Linked DNA regions of Homo sapiens: region 1 is linked to region 2. The links are contacts of gene promoters, found by promoter capture Hi-C in human tissues and cell types (Jung and others, 2019). All regions are on one chromosome and are shown on one strand. Each heading gives the region's core, a stretch centred on a gene start or on the middle of the fragment in contact. The rest is flanking DNA. Distances are from core to core; before and after follow the strand shown.

Region 1 (4,648 bases), core at 679-3,178, 1.4 Mb before region 2:
ACTTGGATGCCCTGCTGGGCTACAGGTGAGTTTCTACCAAAATCAGGCTGGGCACAGTGGCTCATGCTTGTAATTCCAGCACTTTGGGAGGCTGAGGCAGTCAGCTCACTTGACCCCAGCAGTTCAAGACCAGCCTGGGCAACATAGTGAAACTCCGTCTCTACAAAACGTACAAAAATTAGCTGAGTGGGGCCAGGCACAGTGGCTCACGTCTGTAATCCCAACACTTTGGGAGGCTGAGGCGGGCGGATCATGAGGTCAGGAGTTCAAGACCAGCCTGGCCAACATGGCGAAACCCCATCTCTACTAAAAATACAAAAATTAGCGGGGCATGGTGGTGCGTGCCTGTAATCCCAGCTACTCGGGAGGCTGAAGCAGGAGAATTGCTTGAACCCAGGAGGCGGAGGTTGCAGTGAGCCAAGACCGCACCACTGCACTCCAGCCTGGGGACAGAGCGAGACTCCGTCTAAAAAAAAAAAAAAAGCTGAGTTTAGTGGCATGGGCCTCTAGTCCCAGCTACTTGGGAGGATCTCTTGAGGCCGGAAGGTCAAGGCTGCCATGAGCTGTGATGGAGCCACTGTATTCCAGTCTGAGCAACAGGGCAAGATCCTGTTTCCAAAAAAAAAAAAAAAAAAATTCAATGAACTTCGTGTCTTCGTCAAAGTTCTGTTTGTTTTGTTTTGTTTTCAGACAGGGTTTCACTATGCTGTCCAGGCTGGAGTGCAATGGTGTGATCTCAGCTCACTGCAACCTCTGCCTCCTAGGCTCCAGAGATCCTTCTTCCTTAGTCTCCTGTGTAGCTGGGGACCACAGGTGCATACCACCATGCCTGGCTAATTAGTTGAGGTCCTGGTTTATTGAAGCTAGTTTCCTCCTTGGCTAGGAGGTACAATGACTCTCTCAGAATCAGAGTTACTGCTGTGAATTCAAGGCAAGAGTTTCTGTTGAATTCTAGGCTAGGATAAAATGGGACCTCTGTAAATTGTCTCACTGGGGTTTTGGTGTGAGACAACTTTTCCTTAGCTTCCTCCTTTTTCAATTGCATGAGCGTGCTCTTGCTCCACTACATAGCTTGTTTCATTCAAAACAACCAGGATGGAAAAGGGGTCCTCTAAAACTGAAGATGCGCCAGCTAGGTTTTATGAATAATGTTTATGGGTCCTTCTACTTACCTAACCCAGATTGGTTATAAAACAGCAATGGCCAAAATGGGGATCTTTTGAATGTGCCTAAAATAATTTATTTGCACGCATAATTAGAAAAGCTGGTTATAGAACCAAATAGAATGGGAGACTTAATTCCAATAACACCTAAAAGCTTTTAAGATACATTCTAAAAAAAAATTTGCCCCATTCAAAAGGTAAATATATTTAAAATTATTTCTTACAGATGATGAAACTGAGGCAAACAAAAAAGAAAAATAAAGAAAACTATTTCTAAATTGAAAAAGACTTTGGAGGTTTTCTCCCTTTTGCCTCCAACTGCTCCTCCTCCTTCGATCCCTGTGATATGAACGCATCCCTTTCTACTGGTTCCCTTGGCTCCCATACATCTCTTAGGCAGAGAGTTTTAGAATTTCACAATGTGCATATTTCTTTCTCTCAATAGGTTAAAATATTAATTAAATTTGGAACAAAAAGAACAAACAGAACAACTACAAAACACAAAACTGCTGATATTCAGATCCAACAAATTTTTCTAAACTGACAATAAGAAACAAAATGATGCCAGGCGCGGTGGTTCACGTCTATAACCTAAGCACTTTGAGAGGCTGAGGCAGGAGGATTGCTTGAGCTCAGGAGTTCAAGACTAGCCTGGGTAACATGGTGGCTTTTGTTGTTGTTGTTGTTGTTTCCCAAAAAAAAAGAAAAGCAAAAGAAAAAATAGCTAGGCGTGGTGGCACACACCTGTGGTCTCAGGTACTTGGGAGGCTGAGATGGGAGGATTGCTTGAGCCCCAGGAGGTCGAGGCTGCAGTGAGGTGAAGGCTGCAGTAAGCAGTGATTTCAACACGTAACCTGGATGACGGAGTGAGACCCTGTCTCAAAAGAAAAAAAAAATCTGTTTCTGTTTAAAACTTACCAGATTTATATCTAAAAAATTCAGCTTTTTCTATGCCTCACTACATATGATTGACAGGTTACATACATCATTGTCTTCTGTTCCTTTTTTCCATAAAAAGGTATATCTTTTTGCTTAGCTGAGTTAACTCTCTCCTTCAACCTTTTTGTGAACTTTTTGTGTAACTTTTTCTACCCCTACTGTGATGGCTAATACTAAAACATTTGTCTTGAAGGTCTAAATAGGCAATGTTTTCCTCCAGTATAACTTGATTCTGTGTTCTAGGCTTTTCTTGATATATCTAAATTGTTCCACATAACCAAAAAACTTCCCATGCTGTTACTAAGAGCCATATATCCCACTGCTCAAGATACTAGTTTTCTTATTTACATTCCTTTATGATTTAATATACATTTATAACCCTAGACACACTCATCCTGGGTCTGATTAATGTGAGCACCCTCTTTTTTTTTTTTTTTTTTTTTTTTGACAAAGTCTCGCTCTTGTTGCCCAGGCTGGAGTGCAATGGTGCCATCTCGGCTCACTGCAACCTCTGCCTCCTGGGATCAAGCAATTCTCCTGCCTTAGCCTCCGGAGTAGCTGGGATCACAGGCACCCACCACCACGCCCGACTAATTTTTGTATTTTTAGTAGAGATGGGTTTCACCCTGTTGGCCAGGCTGGTCTCAAACTCCTGACCTCAGGTGATCTGCCAGCCTCGGCCTCCCTAACAGCTGGGATTACAGGCGTAAGCCACTACGCCAGGCCCACCCTCTTTTTTTTTTTTTTTTTTTTTTTAATGTTAAGTTTGACTTCCAGGTTATCTAAATGGGCTTCCCATTTAGTAGGGCAATTCCCATACAATTGCACTACAAGAGGTTTTTCTTTACCATTTTGGTAACTGGCCTCAAAACCAAATATTCTGCATTTTATCAAAATAACTTCTAGGCTGGTGGGGTGGCTCACACCTGTAATCGCAGCACTTTGGGAGGCCGAGGTGGGCGGATCACTTGAGGTCAGGAGTTTGAGACCAGCCTGGTCAACATGGTGAAACCCCGTCTCTACCAAAAATATAAAAAATTACCAAGTGTCGTGGAGTGCACCTGTAATTCCAGTTACTCGGGAGGCTGAGGCAGGCAAATCACTTGAACCCAGGAGACGGAGATTGTGGTGAGCCGAGATCGTGCCACTGTACTCCAGCCTGGATGACAGAGTGAGACTCCGTCTCAAAAAACAAACAAACAAAAACAACAAAAATAACTTCTAGGCTGGGCACTGTGGCTCACGTCTGTAATCCCAGAACTTTGGGAGACTGAAGCAGGAGGATCCCTTGAGTCTGGGAATTGGAGACCAGCCTGGGCAGCATAGGGAGACCCTGTCTCTACAAAGAATACAAAAATTAGCCAAGCATGGTGGTGTGTGCCTGTAGTCCCAGCTACTCAGGAGGCTGAGGTGGGAGGATCCCTTGAGCCCCAGGAGGCAAAGGTTGCAGTGAGCTGAGATCATGCCACTGCACTCCAGCCTGGGCAACAGAGAGAGAGAGAGAGACTCCATTTCAAAATAATAATAATAATAACAATAATAATAATTTCTGTATTATCTGTGTAGGTTTTTTGTGGGTTTTGTTGTTGTTTTTATTTTATTTTTGAGACAGGGTCTGGCTTGTTGCTCAGGCAGCAATGCAGTAACATGATCACAGCTTACTGCAGCCTCAAGCTCCTGGGCTCAAGTAATTTTCCCACTTAAGCCTTCCAAGTAGCTGGGACCACAGGTGCATGCCACCATGCCTGGGTAATTTTTGTTTAATTTTTTAAGAGATGGGGATCTCCCTATGTTGCCCAGGCTGGTCTCGAACTCCTGGGCTCAGCAATCCTCATGCTTTGGACTCCTGAAGTACTGGAATTACAGGTGTGAGCCACCAGGCCCAGCCATATAGTTCTATCTTGATCAAGTGTTTTAAGCCTTTTGACATCTTTTACAAATTTCTCCAAGATCAAAATCCTAAATTAAGTCTTTTAAACAATTCAACTTGTTTTGATAAATAATACTAAATCCTCTTTTAGTTACATCTAATGGGTATGTTATTAATATAAATGTTCTTAAAATTATATAAATTCATAAAAATCTAATGTTATCAGTCATAATTTTAATTATGTTAAATATTTTCTAAAGTTACATAGATATATCATTAATATAACTATTCTAAAGGTCATATAACATTTATAAAGGTCTAATAGTCCTGATGTGATATTGTCAGTCATAATTCTAATTTTTATGTTAAAATGCTACATATAATAAAAATGTAGCAATTGTCAATTAAAAACTTTCATCAGACTCTGACCATGGCTATTCTAAGTTTTTGTCATCCACAGCCATTATTATTATTGTTGTTATTTTTTGAGACAGGGTCTCACTATGTTGCCCAGGCACAGCCATTATTTTAAATTCTTCTCTAAAAACATTTACAATCAGCTATAATCCAAAATTGCTTTTCATAAAAGACTCTAACAAGTACTCCTAAACACAGGTTTCTAATAACTTTAAGATTAATAGACTAAAGAAAAATTTCAAAAACTCTAATGAAATCT
Region 2 (4,715 bases), core at 22-2,521:
TAGAACGTGGAGAATCCAACAGGCGTGGGGGCCCCCTCCTGGGCTCCCCATCTCCAGATCAGAAAACACAGCCTCACTGTCTTGCACCTTCCTGTCTTGCAGTAGCCTGGAGGTGCCTCAGGGCACGAAGGTTCTACCTAGGGAATCCTTACCTCTGTCTCCAAAGGAGGTCCTGGCTAGGGGGTCTCTAGGTTCCCCAAAACTTGTTTCTGCAAAGACCTGGCCTGGGGTTTCCAGGGTCTCCTCCCTCTCTGGGGAAGGAGTCTTGGTGGGGATCTCGTGGTCCCCAGCCCCCAGGGCCCCTACTCACCGTGGGTCATCGCTGTACTGCACTGTGGCAAAGCGCACACCCTGTGCACTGGCTGCTCCAGAGAAAGGCAGCACCAGCCCTTCGAGAAAGCTGCGGACCTCGCGGAAATTGCTGCGGCCAATGGATGAGGAGCCATCCAGTAAGAACACAATGTCAGCGGCGTAAAGGCGCGTGCAGGTCACTGGGGCGGGCAGGAGAGATCAGGGCCTCTTCTGGGAGGCCAACCACCCGCCTACCCGCACGGTGGCCTCACTGGGACTTGGGATGGTGGGGAGAGTAGGCCTCATCTTATGCAAACCAGGGCCGAATCGGCCTGAGCCTGAGGGCCTTGGAGGGAGTTGAGCTCGGTGGGTCCCAGAGCAGACTCCCGCGGAGGGTTGGGGGTGTGCGGGGGAGGGAGAGTCGCCAGCACGGGTGTGGACTTGGGACTGAGGTCAGCCTCTAGGGGCCGGCGTGGATTGGCATAAGGCAGGGGACCCCGCACGCATCCAGGGAGCCAGAATTTGGGTAGGAACAGGATAGGAGGCGGTTTAGGGAACCCAGCACCGATCGCGGAGGGTTCGGGGAGTCCCAGAATTAGGAGGAATCCGCGGGGCGTCGTGGAGTTGGCTGGGTTGTGGGCGGGGGGTGTTGGGGATGAAGGCCGAGTGGAGCGGAGGGTGGCACGGTGCAGTGCCCCGGGCCGGGTCCTCCCTTGCGGTGCCCACCTCTCTCCCTGTGCTGGGCTCGCACTCGGGGCGCCTCTGCCAGGATCCCGGCGCAGAGCGCGGCCACCAGAAGCCGCAGCGTCATCCTAGGCAGTAAAAGCCGTCAGCTAGGACCCCCGCCTCTGTCCCTTGCTCCCCCGTGGCCTTGGCAGGTCCGAGCCCAGCGCCCCTCCAGCCCGAGTCCTGGTCTTGCCTGCGCGTCCGCCCGCTCCCGCCGCCGCCGCTGCAGTCTCTCGGGCAGAGCAGAGAAAAGTCCCTGATCTCGGGGGGCGGAGCGGCAGGCGGGAACCCAGGCACCCGCCCTCACCCATATCCCTGAGAGGTCGCCGCCCCCCCCACCCCTCCCCCAGACAAACGATATGACGCACTTAACTATAAACCCCCCGACCCCCCGTGGCTTCTGGGAATTTCCCAGAAGGTTCTGCATGGGCAGATGCTGAGGGAGTACCCCTAACTCCATCTAAGGTCACAGGTCTTGGCTGCTTTAGGTCAATCACAGTGACCAGGCTGAGGAGTGGACAGGTTCCTGCAGAGCCACAAGGCAGCAGCGCCGTGGGGGGTGGGGCTGCAGTTGGGGATGACTCACCCCCAATCCAGTGGGGGTGCCCAGACAAGCCCTCAGGCCATGGGTCCCGCCGGCCACTCCTGTGATTCAGCCATCTGTCTGGTGGGCCTCCTGGGCCCCACCCGGATCTCCTTGACAGGCAAGAAGCCCTGGCAAATGAGTGACTCTGGGCCGGTCTTAGGGAAACCAAGGTCCCCTTGGCCTGGATCCAAGTAACTCACCCCCTCTTTGTAGGGGATAAGCCGGAAGGAGGAGAGAACCTGTGTCATGCTTATGCATACATCCCAGTGTCCCACATCCCCTACCATGTCACAGGCAGATGCAATCCAGCTGTGCCTGCAGGGAGGGGGCCGCCCATCTGTGGAGGGCGGGACCACCCACAGTGACAGCTCATCTCTCAGGAATCGAGCCCTCCATGCCCCAGGCCAGGTCCCCCTACCTACATGTCCTCACCCACAGGCATCCTCTCCTTCCATCTACTTTTCTTGTAGGTCCCTGCCACCCATCTCCCCTACCAGGCCGAGGTCCCCTTGGGCCCCTTCCTCCTTTCCTCACTGCCCTCATGGTACCTGTAGCTTCCAGCTTCATAACTGCCCCCTACCTTACTCCTGTCCCCTTACCCAGGCTGACTTCACACCCTCCCCCAGCTTCGCTTCTGAGGCTGTGGACAGTCCTCCAACACACACCACGCCAGGGCCACTGTCCGAAGGAGGTGGGGCTCTGTATATGCATATCTCTCCATTAGATGGGTGACACTAAGGCAGAGAGGCACTGCTAAGAAGGGCAGGCCCCCATCTGGGTCCTGCTCCCCCTTTTTTTCCTGCTAATCCTGAATAACTCTGGGCAGCCCAGAAAGCACATCTATACTCACCAAGGCTGCTGGGCCCCTTCTAATATGCCCGGCCCCACAGCCTCCCCTGGGATCCACAGGGAGATATGGGGACAGCACTGGCTGGACTCCTCCACAGCCCGAGGACTCTGGTGTGGCCAGAGCTGGAGGCAGTGAAGACCATCCATGCTGCCTGCTTTCCTATTGCCCAAGGAAGGCTGGGGCTCTATCCCTTATTACTGACCCCCCAAACTATCCTGGGGCATAGTGCTATGACCTTATTCCAAGGTCAGGGTCTCCTCAGCCATGTCCCAGGACCCCCCATCCCTGCAAGGTGTGCTCCAGGTGGGGGGCTGCAGAGAACCAGGTATGTTATCACACAGGCAGCCCCTTCCCCCTAAGACTGTCACCTCCTCCCGTGCAGCCAGGGCGGGCAAGAGCAGGCCAGTGGCATGGACAGTACGGTACAGACATATGTGCACACGTGGGCCAGTCTTAGGGGAGACAGGAGGCCCAGCTGGGAGGGTGGGTGCTCAGGCAAACCTCATCAGAATTGAGGTGCCTCCAAAAGAAAGGACAGGCTGCTGTGAGAGGGTCTCTCAAAGGGTGCTGGGAGAGGCTGTTGAGAAGGTAGGAGTAAGGTTGGAATGACTCCACGTCTGGAGCTTCTATGAGACTCACGAGCAGGAGTGTGGCCCTCTGAAGCCCCAGCTCTGGCCTCCTGGGAGGAACACAGCCTAGGGCACAGCCCGAGGCCAGTGCCTACCTGCAACCCCATCAGGGCGGTGGAGCCCCCAGAGCACATCCTTCTCCCTCCCAAGCTTTCCCTGAACATTTCCTTCCCTGGCCTCAGTCACTACCTCACCCCATCTGTTTCCAACCAGGGCCTCTTTATCAGGTCCCAGCCCCACACATCCCACTGTACCCTGGACACCACCAAACTCCTCACTGGACTATGGAAGATTACCCTCCTCCAACCCACTCGTGCCTCCGCGTCTCCCAGCCCTGCTGGGAATGTAGTCCTCTTTGTGTCCCCTACAGCTGGCTCCAGTTCGTGTGGCCATGACCTCTGTTCTGCCACAGCACAGCTCACCAAGACTGATACAGAAATATGGCCTGAGAGTCCCCATGCTGAATCTCAACTCTGACCAAGTCACTTCTCTTCACAGTAACCTCCAACACACCTCCCCAGCATGGCTCCAGGGTAAAGACCAGAGTCCCTGGCTTGGTACGCAAGGTCCCTTAGAACCAGACCACTCCCAGCAACTCAAGCTCTCGTGTCCAGCACACCTGTAGCCTCTAAGGGCCAGGCTGGGCTTAGAAATGAAGCCCCATCCTCCAGGAGCTCAAACTTGACAACAGACTTGGCACTTGTTCCCCTGCCTGGGTGTTGCACCTCCATGAGCACCCAGGGTTGGGCCTGTCAGGGTTCTGCGCTGCCCAGCATCTTCTCTCCAGCCGTTCACAAAGTAGAATGATCTGCGCAATGCCCCAGTCCCGGGCCGTAGAAGGTGCTTAACAAATGTCTCCGAATTGGCAACGTATGGCAACCAATGGTGAGGGAAAGGCAGTGGGGCAGGGTGATAGTGATACAAGGGTTCCTTGGGCTACTTCCAAGCTACGATGCTGGGGGGACTTCTGAACAGCCATCTTCTAAAAGACCTTGTCCCAGCACCCTGCTTGTGACTGCCAGGCAGCGACTTCCTCAAAGGAAAATTGGGCCCCTCGCTTTCAACTTCCCCCTGGGATCCCAGAGAACCTGACTGTGGAAGCACTGGGGGGTGCAGGAGGAGCAGCCTACCTGCGCACCCACCATGGGGACCAGAGCCAAAAGAGATAACAGAGGGACTAGGTAGCTAAGAGCTGTACCAGGTCCTGGCTGCCTCAGGAAAATGGGGAGGGGATTGTCAGGCCAGCAGCTCTGGACTTGCCTGGGACAAATGTAGTAGAGGGAGGGGGCTCGGGCCCCACTGAGCTCAGGGCTATTCTTGGAGCCTGAGTCAGCGGAGGCAAAGGATTCCTGCCCTGCTTGTCCAGGCAGCAGTTAGAAACCAAATGAGAACACTATGCCCCAGGCTATCCTCCTCCCAGAATGCAGAGTAAACACACACAAGAGGCATCCTTGGAGACACCCCTTGGCCCCTTCTGGTCCACCAGGGACCACCAGGGGGTGACTTGGCACAAGGTCCACAGTGAGGGGTTTCCCACCTGAGCCTGCAGGGATTCCAGGCTGGGACTCCTACAGGGGCAAAGGCTGGGTTTACACTTCCTATGGACTCCCACAGCCCAATCTTGGGACCAGCT

The links. Contacts are between HindIII fragments. The study calls those that stand out against the background at their distance.
Region 1: a contact is called between a fragment that was not itself captured here and the fragment with the promoter of COL7A1 in region 2, in 1 of the 25 tissues and cell types used here (lymphoblastoid cells).

The regions. Positions count from the first base shown.
Region 1 is chr3:47,200,594-47,205,241 of GRCh38, forward strand. The region is part of intron 2 of KIF9-AS1 (KIF9 antisense RNA 1); the gene reads left to right. Among named protein-coding and RNA genes, the nearest start is that of KIF9-AS1, 39 kb to the left of the region's middle. The HindIII fragment of the contact is 8,939 bases long and covers 1-4,648 here.
Region 2 is chr3:48,594,058-48,598,772 of GRCh38, forward strand. It overlaps COL7A1 (collagen type VII alpha 1 chain), which reads right to left and starts at 1,272. Exons shown (of 119, transcript NM_000094.4): 1 at 1,211-1,272; 2 at 1,018-1,103; 3 at 311-491. The coding sequence starts at 1,102. The HindIII fragment of the contact is 15,548 bases long and covers 1-4,715 here.